3 separate regions of the Homo sapiens genome follow, and regions 1 and 3 are each linked to region 2. The links are contacts of gene promoters, found by promoter capture Hi-C in blood cells and fetal thymus (Javierre and others, 2016). All regions are on one chromosome and are shown on one strand. The core of a region is centred on a gene start or on the middle of the fragment in contact, and the rest is flanking DNA. Distances in the headings are between cores, read along the strand shown.

Region 1 (3,184 bases), core at 608-3,107, 2.3 Mb before region 2:
CCTCAACGGCATGCTGGTGGCGCACAGCAGCAGGCCACCTGCCCATGGACCACAGCAGCAAGCCTGCTTACCCACTGACCCCAGCAGTTTTCCAGCCTATGGATCCCACCAGCCAGCCCACTCAGAATCTCTGGCCAGCCTGACTGGGAAGGGGTTTCCCTGCTGAAGCCAGCCTGTAAAGATTAAAAGAGATGACTCCTTCTTCAAAAGTACAGGCACCAGTGCAAAGCCATAAGGATCACAAAGAATCAGGAAAATACAACGATGCCAAAAGAACACAATAAAACCGATAACTGATCTTTTAAAAGATGGAGACCTAAGAACTGCCTGGAAAAGAATTCAAAATAAGTGTCTTAAATAATCTCAGTGAACTATTAAAGAACACAGAAAGAAAGCCACATGATATCGTGAAAACAATACATGAACAAAATGAGAACTTCAACAAAGACATAGAGATGATAAAAGAAAATAAATTTTGGAGCTGAAGGACACAATGACCGAACTGAAAAATTTCAGAGGAAACTTCAACAGCAGACTTGATCAGGTAGAAGAAGAGGCATCTGTGTGCACAAAGAGAGATCGTTTGAAATTATCCAGTCAGAGGAACAAAAAAAAAACAGAAATAATTTTTTAAAAGTAAAGAGAACTTAGGGAACTTATGAACATCATCAAACATACCAATATATGCTTTATGGGATTTCTACAAAGAGAAGAGGAAGAGAAAGTGGTAGAAAACTTATTTAAGGAAATAATGGTTGAAAACTTCCCACATCTGGGAAGGGAAATAGACATCCAGTTTTATGAAGCCCAGATAACCCCAATTACCCAATTAGAAGAGTAAAGAGAAAAAAGAATTTAAAAAAAGAGTGAACAGGGCCTACAAGAATTGTGGGGCGCCATCAAGTGAACTAATTTCCACATAATAGACATTCCCAAAGGAGACAAAAGAGAAAAGGCCTAGAAAGCATACTTAAATAAATAATGGATAAAATTTTCCCAAATCTGAAAAAAAAATGACACCATCCAGGTACAAGAAGCTCAGAAGTTACCAATAAAATTCAGCCCAAAGAGGAAATCCCAAAGGCACATTATAATCAAATTTAAAAAAATCAAAGACAAAGAAAGAATGTTTAAAGCAGCAAGATAAAAGAAACAAACCAAATGCAAGAGATACCCAATACAGCTTTCAGTGGATTTCTCAGCAGAAACCTTGCAGGCAAGGACAGAGTGGAATGCTGTATTTGATGTGCTAAAGGAAAAAACTACCAACCGAGCATACTGTGCCTAGCATAGCTATTCTTCAGATACTAAGGAAAGATAGACTTTCCCACACAAACAAAAGCAGAAGGAATTCATCATCACCAAATCTGTGTTACAAGAAATGCCCAAGGGAGTTCTTCAATTTGAAAGAAATGGTTGCTAACATGTAACAAGAAAATATCTAAGGGTATTAAACTCACTAATAAAAGAAAAAAAGACAAATTCAGAATATCCTAATACTGCAATTGGGGCAAGTAAATCACTTATTTCTTAAGTATGAAGACAGAAGACAAAACTATTAAACATGATGGTAACTACAACAATTGGTTAAAAGATAGGCAATATAAAAAGATGTAAATTGAAACATGAAAAAGTCAAGATGGGGCATATTAGTGGAGAGTTTATTTTTGTTACTTTTATTCTTTGCAGTCAAATTAAGTCATTATCAATTTAAAATAACCTGTTATAACTATAAGATGTTTTTTGTACACATGGTAAACACAAAGCAAAAACCTGTAATAGATATACTAAAAATAAGTGGCACAGAATCAAAACATACTACTAGAAAAAATCACTTAACCATGAAGGAAGACAGTAATAGAGGGAAAAAGAAGAAAAGGTCTAAAAAAAACCCAGAAAACAAATAAAGTGGTGGTAATAAACCCTTACCTATCAATAATAACCTTGAATATAAATGGATTAAATTATCCAGTTAAAAGACAAAGAATGACTGAATGGATAAAAAACAAGACCCATGGCCGGGCACAGTGGCTCATGCCTGTAATCCCAGCACTTTTGGAGGCCGAGGTGGGTGGATCACAAGGTCAGGAGTTTGAGATCAGCCTGGCCAACATGATGAAACCCCATCTCTACTAAAAACACAAAAATTAGCCAGGCATGGTGGCAAGCGTGTGTAATCCCAGCTACTCAGGAGCTGAGGCAGGAGAATCACTTGAACCCGGGAGGCAAAGGTTGCAGTGAGCGAAGATTGCGCCACTGCACTCCAGCCTGGGTGACAGAGTGAGACTTCATCTCAAACAAACAAACAACAACAAAAACAAGACCCAACTATATGCTATCTACAAGAAACTCATTTCACCTAAACCTATGTGATACAGCAAAAGCATCTCAAAGAGGGAAGCTCGGCAATAAATGCCTACATAAAAGGTAGAACCAGTGGAGGAATGTGGAACCATGGCCACTATAGTTGCTCTTTGCAGTGGTCTGGGGAGGAAGAAGTTGACACACCTTGTAATGGCTGCTGTTAGCCTTACACATCCCAGGACTCATATGGTGCTATGGAGAAGAGGTTGTTCACAATATAAACAGATATCCAGCAATGAGGACCTGCCCATTCCAATGGAAAATTCTTATAAAGAAGCCCTTAAGAAATGTATCTTGTGTGGAAAGCAGGTAGATTTTAAGAATGTACAGCGTCCCAGTTTATTTCTCCATTTGTTGGATGCATTTGTGGAAGGCACAAAACAGGTCTTTGTGGGAAGAAACAGAAAGAAATCACAAAAGCAATTAAGAGAGCTCAAATAATGGGGTTTCTGCCAGTTACATCCAAGGATGCTGCATATCTCAAGGACCCTAAAGTTTGTAACATCAGATATCAGGAGTAAATTATATCATGTTACCACCGATAAACTTATTTTACAGGTAAAAAAAAAAGGTAGAAAGACTTCAAATAACCCAATGACACACCTCAAGGAACTAGAAAAGCAAGAACAAAGCCAATGCAAAATAATTAGAAGGAAAAAATAATAAACATTAGAGCAGAAAAAAATTAAATTGAAACCAAAGAAAACCATATAAAAGATCATTGTTGTTTCGTTTTGCTTTGTGTTTTAGTTTAAAGAGAGTTTATTCAAGCACAAAGATTTAGCACTGTAACCCAGGACGTGCTTCCAAGTTGTCTTGG
Region 2 (2,940 bases), core at 53-2,552:
TGGCTAAGGGTACCTGGGAAGGAGTGGGGTGTACCCTTCATCGTCCTCATCTGCCCCCTGGTGGCACGTTTTGTCACTCTGGACTCCTGCCGTAGGCTGCCAACAGCCTATTTAAACGAAACATCCTTGATATTTAGTGCTTTGTATATTTCCAGAAAGCTTTTCAATTACTGAGATTATCACTTCCTCTCACCATAAAGTTGTATAGCATTGCCCAATAATACTATTGTCATCTGCTTTATCTGTTAATACTTGATTTGTCTCATATTTAAACTGATTTTTGTCACGAGAAGTTTCCCCAGAAATTTTTTTATTCTTTGCCTGTTTTTCCTATATATCCAAATATATCAATTTTTGATCTATTTATATACCCATTTTGTTATCTTCAGGTGCGTTATTTGGTTTTCATTTTTTAAATTTCTTTCCCATTCTGCAGATGAAAAATACTGAGAAACCTACTCTGTTCCTGCATCCGAGCCATTCCACAGGCAGTTTTCCCATACTAAAAATGCTGTCTTCCACTGATGTGTGGCATGTCTCAGTTCCGTGACTTCTTTTCCTCTCTCTCTACTCGCTGCTGTCCCTTTTCTCCATGTGTCTCTAACATGCCTGTGTTCTTCAAGACCCAGTGCAACCACATTCCCTCCCACAACTCTATTTTCATGAGGAATAGCCAAGCAGGACTCCCAAGACATCATACAGGAGTGCCTACAGGGTATCTCTCCTTGGCAGTCCCACAGCACCGCAAATGCCCTGTGTCTGCCAATACTCATCAGCCTCTCTTCCCGTGTGCCTCTCCTGGGACCCTAAGAGAGTAACAGTCCCTGCAACTTCCCACTTTCTCCAGGCAGGGACTTGTGTGCCTTTTCCATGTCTTTGACTCCTTTATTCAATTATAATACAGGTATCTGTCTGCTATAACTCCTGGAACTCTCTTATGTAAATGCGCTTTTTTCATTCTCCGCCTCACATCTTAGCCCAGACCACACCATCTCCCCCCGCCGTCTTGGATACCTTCCATGTTTCCAGTGGTCTGCTCCCACTCCACACTGCAGTACAGTGATTTTTCTAAAACATGGATGGGTTCCTGTCACTCCCCTGTGAAAAGTCATCCATGTGGAGTCTGACTGGTCTGCATTTGGGGACTGGACAGAGTGAGAAGGGATCCTGTGTCAGCCAGGACTCCGGTAGACGCCCCTATGCAATATCCACTTGTGGTGGTCGGGGGCGGGGAAGGGGCGGGATTGAGCCCCCTTCCCCCCTCCTCCTTACTGCGGAAAGCTGCGGAGCGAGCAGCACTCACTTCCTATTCAGCATTCAGCAGGGAGGGAGCCTCTGAACAGCCACGTAGGCATTCTCTTCTCTCTGGAGGAAAAGGCCCAGCAGCTGTCCGAGGAAAAGACCCACCAGCTGTCAGCAAAGGGACATGTCGCAGCTAAGTAAGAATCTGGGTGACTCGAGTCCTCCGGCGGAGGCCCCGAAGCCGCCTGTCTATAGCCGCCCTACGGTTCTGATGCGGGCCCCGCCCGCTTCCTCCCGGGCTCCGCCAGTCCCTTGGGATCCACCTCCAATTGACTTGCAGGCTTCATTGGCCGCTTGGCAGGCACCTCAGCCTGCCTGGGAGGCCCCACAGGGCCAGCTGCCCGCCCCGGTGGTTCCGATGACCCAGCCTCCTGCCCTAGGGGGCCCGATAGTCCCGGCTCCCCCGCTGGGGGGCCCGATGGGTAAGCCTCCGACTCCCGGGGTCCTGATGGTGCATCCTCCACCTCCGGGAGCCCCGATGGCCCAGCCTCCGACCCCGGGAGTCCTGATGGTGCATCCTTCAGCTCCCGGAGCTCCCATGGCCCATCCTCCTCCTCCGGGGACCCCAATGTCCCACCCTCCCCCTCCGGGGACCCCAATGGCCCATCCTCCTCCTCCGGGGACCCCGATGGCCCATCCTCCTCCTCCGGGGACCCCGATGGTGCATCCTCCTCCTCCGGGGACCCCGATGGCTCATCCTCCCCCTCCGGGGACACCGATGGCTCATCCTCCCCCTCCGGGGACACCGATGGCTCATCCTCCACCTCCGGGGACACCGATGGCTCATCCTCCCCCTCCGGGTACACCGATGGCCCAGCCTCCAGCTCCGGGAGTCCTGATGGCCCAGCCTCTGACTCCGGGAGTCCTGATGGTCCAGCCTGCTGCTCCGGGAGCACCGATGGTCCAGCCGCCTCCAGCAGCCATGATGACCCAGCCTCAGCCTTCAGGAGCACCGATGGCCAAGCCTCCAGGTCCAGGAGTCCTGATGATTCATCCTCCAGGTGCGAGAGCTCCGATGACCCAGCCTCCAGCTTCAGGAGCACCGATGGCACAGCCGGCGGCCCCACCTGCACAGCCGATGGCCCCACCTGCACAGCCGATGGCTTCTTGGGCCCCGCAGGCTCAGCCTCTGATCCTGCAAATCCAGTCTCAAGTTATAAGGGCTCCTCCGCAGGTTCCCCAGGGCCCGCAGGCACCCCCAGCGCAGCTAGCCACACCCCCGGGCTGGCAGGCGACCTCGCCAGGATGGCAGGCCACGCAGCAAGGCTGGCAGGCCACTCCCCTGACTTGGCAGACCACGCAGGTCACCTGGCAGGCACCAGCCGTTACCTGGCAGGTGCCGCCGCCCATGCGCCAGGGGCCCCCGCCCATCCGCCCTGGCCCACCACCCATCCGCCCTGGCCCACCACCGGTGCGACAGGCCCCACCGCTGATCCGCCAGGCCCCACCGGTGATCCGCCAGGCCCCACCCGTGATCCGCCAGGCCCCACCCGTGATCCGCCAGGCCCCCGCTGTGATCCGCCAGGCCCCACCTGTGATCCGCCAGGCCCCACCTGTGATCCGCCAGGCTCCACCTGTGATCCGCCAGGCCCCGCCGCTGATCCGCCAGGCGCCGCCGCCCATCCGACCTGCCCCACA
Region 3 (2,716 bases), core at 202-2,701, 2.1 Mb before region 2:
CTTCTTTATTTTTTAATATTGTCTTTCACAAAAGCTTTTAGTTTTGATAAATTTTTATTCTTGTTAAATTTTTATTTTATTATTTTATCTTTTTGGAGATGAGGTCTCACTCTGTTATCCAGGCTGGAGTGCAGTGGTGCCATCGCAACTCATTACAGCCTCAACCTCCCAGGCTCAAGGGATCCTCCTGCCTCAGCATCCCTAGTACCTGGGACCACAGGAGCGCACAAGCATACCTGGCTAATTTTTTATTTTTTTAAGAGATGGGATGCCCCAGCGTTGCCCAGGCTGGTGTCAAAATCCTGAACTCAAGTGATTGTCCTGCCTCGGCCTCTCAAAGTGCTGAGATTATAGACTTGAGCCACTGTGCCTGGTCTGATTGGTCATTTTTTTTAAATTTTATGTATCATGCATTTGGTGTCATGTCTAAGATGTGCCTAATTATGAATATTTTCTCCTGTGTTTTATTCTAAAAGCATTACACGTTAACATCTTATCTATAGATACAGTCCATTTTGGGTCACATTTCATGAAAGGTGTGAGGGTTAGGTTAGACTTCATCTTTCCACATGTGGCTGCCCAGTTCCTCCAGTGCCATTTGTTGAAAGCGTCTTCTTTTGGTTGAAAGCGTCTTTGTCAAAAATCAGTTAGTTACATTTGTGTGGGTCTGTTTCTAGACTTTCTGTTCTGTTCCATTCATTTGTTTGTCTATCCCTTCACCAATACGACGTGTATTGATTCATTGTAGTAGTTTGATTACTGTAGTTTTTTATAAGTCTTAAAAATTGGTAGTGTTATTCCTCCAACTTTATTCTATTTCAAAATTGTTTTGGCTAGTCTTCTTATTTGTTGCCTTCGTATATGAATTTTAAATTAATTTTTCTGTTCAGAAATTCCTGCTGGAGCTTTTATTTGAATTTTGTTAAATTTATAAATCAATTTGGGAAGCATTGATATTTTTATTATGTTGATCTTCCACTCTGTAAACATGGTATATCTCTACATTTTTTAGGTCTTCTTTTATTTCTTTTATCAGCATTTTATAGTTTTCAGCATACACATCATATACATGTTTTGTTAGATACATACCCAAGCACTGATGCTCCTCAACTTATGATGGGGTTATGTCCCAATAAACCTATCATAGGTCAAAAAAATCATAAGTTGAAAATGTATTTAATACCCCAAAAGACCCATCCAAAAGTTGAAAATTTGTAAATTGAACCATTGTAAGTCAGGGACCATCTGTACAACATTTTTTGTAGGTTTTGTAAGTAGTATTTTTAAATTTTTATTTTCCATCAGTTTATAGTACAGTTGACCCTTGAACACGTAGGGGTTAGGGATACCAATCCCTCCATGTAGTCAAAAATCCACATATAACTTTTGACTCTCCAAAAACTTGACTATTCATAGCCTACTGTTGACCAGAAGCCTTACTGATAACAAATAGTCAATTACCACCTATTCTGTATATTGTATGTATTATATGCTGTATTCTTACAATAAAGTAAGCTAGAGAAAAGAAAATGTTATCAAGAAAATCTTAAGGAAGAGAAAATATATTTACTATTCATTAAGTGAAAGCGGATCTTCACTGACTCTTTCCTTGGTCGTGTCTATTCTCCCATTGGGCCCATCCAGAGAGTTTTCAAAAATAAACTTTATATATAGAATTGTTTCAAATTTAGAGAAAAACTGTGAGGATAGTACAGACTTATTTCTCATGTATGCCATACATAATTTATTGTTACTGATCTTACATTAGCCTAGTACATTTATCACATTAAGGAGCCAATGTTGATACATCATTACTTTCTGAAGTTCATACATTGCCTTAGTTTTTACCTAGTGTCCTTTTTTTGTTCTGGGATCCCATCCAGAACACTACATTACATTTTGTCATCATGCCTCCTTACACTCTTCTTGGCTGTGACACTTCGGTAAACTTTCTTTATTTTTAATCATTTTGACCATTTTGAAGAGTGCTGGCCAGGTATTTTGTAGAATGCCCTTATATTGGGATTTGTCTGATGTTTTTCTTATCACTAAAGTGGAGCTAAGGGTTTTAGGGAGGACAGCCACAGAGGTCAAGTGCCATTTTCATCATATCCTATCAAGGGTACATGCTGTCAACACCATGTCACTGTTGGGGTTGACCTTTCAGTCACTGTACTCTTTGCCTCTTCCCATACTGAATTCTTCCGAAGGAAGTCACTGTGCACAGCTCACAGTTAAGGAGTGTGGAGTTATAGTTTTCTCCTTGAGGGCAGAGTATCTACATAGATGATTTAGAATCCAGTGAGCTTTTTATTTCAGTTAATGTATTTCTGTCACAAATTTCTATTTGGTTCTCTGAAATATCTTCCTTCTTTTTGGCCAAGACTGTCTGTCTCTCTGTTCATTTCCAGCATGTTCAATCTTACTTCTTGGAACTTTTGGATAATGGCTGTTTTCGTCTTTCTTTGTCGATAATGTCAGTATCTGTGTCATCTTGACATTGGCTTCTGTGGATTGTCTTTTTCCACAGAGTTAAGATTTTCCTGGTTCTTTGTATGCTAAGAAGTTTTGGATTGTATCATGGGCATTTCGAATATTATGTTATGACACTGGCCATTTTTAATTTCTATGGAGAATGTGGATTTTTTTTAAGCAGGTGATCAACCCTGTGGGGTTTGGGCTGTGAGCTCTGGGTGTTGGTTTCAAAGGCAGATGT

What was found. Contacts are between HindIII fragments. The CHiCAGO score rates a contact against its expected background, and 5 or more counts as called.
Region 1: a contact is called between a fragment that was not itself captured here and the fragment with the promoter of MAGEL2 in region 2, in 1 of 17 cell types (monocytes). The highest score is 5.5, in monocytes.
Region 3: a contact is called between a fragment that was not itself captured here and the fragment with the promoter of MAGEL2 in region 2, in 3 of 17 cell types (M1 macrophages, M0 macrophages and M2 macrophages). The highest score is 11.3, in M1 macrophages.

The regions. Positions count from the first base shown.
Region 1 is chr15:25,927,847-25,931,030 of GRCh38, reverse strand. The region is part of intron 1 of LINC02346 (long intergenic non-protein coding RNA 2346); the gene reads right to left. It also overlaps the pseudogene MRPS18CP5. Among named protein-coding and RNA genes, the nearest start is that of LINC02346, 27 kb to the right of the region's middle. RefSeq lists enhancers at 1-63, 64-565. The HindIII fragment of the contact is 7,826 bases long and covers 1-3,184 here.
Region 2 is chr15:23,646,229-23,649,168 of GRCh38, reverse strand. It overlaps MAGEL2 (MAGE family member L2), which reads left to right and starts at 1,302. Exons shown (of 1, transcript NM_019066.5): 1 at 1,302-2,940. The coding sequence starts at 1,427. RefSeq lists an enhancer at 2,015-2,859. The HindIII fragment of the contact is 5,160 bases long and covers 162-2,940 here.
Region 3 is chr15:25,697,247-25,699,962 of GRCh38, reverse strand. The region is part of intron 13 of ATP10A (ATPase phospholipid transporting 10A (putative)); the gene reads left to right. Among named protein-coding and RNA genes, the nearest start is that of LINC02250, 120 kb to the right of the region's middle. The HindIII fragment of the contact is 2,829 bases long and covers 37-2,716 here.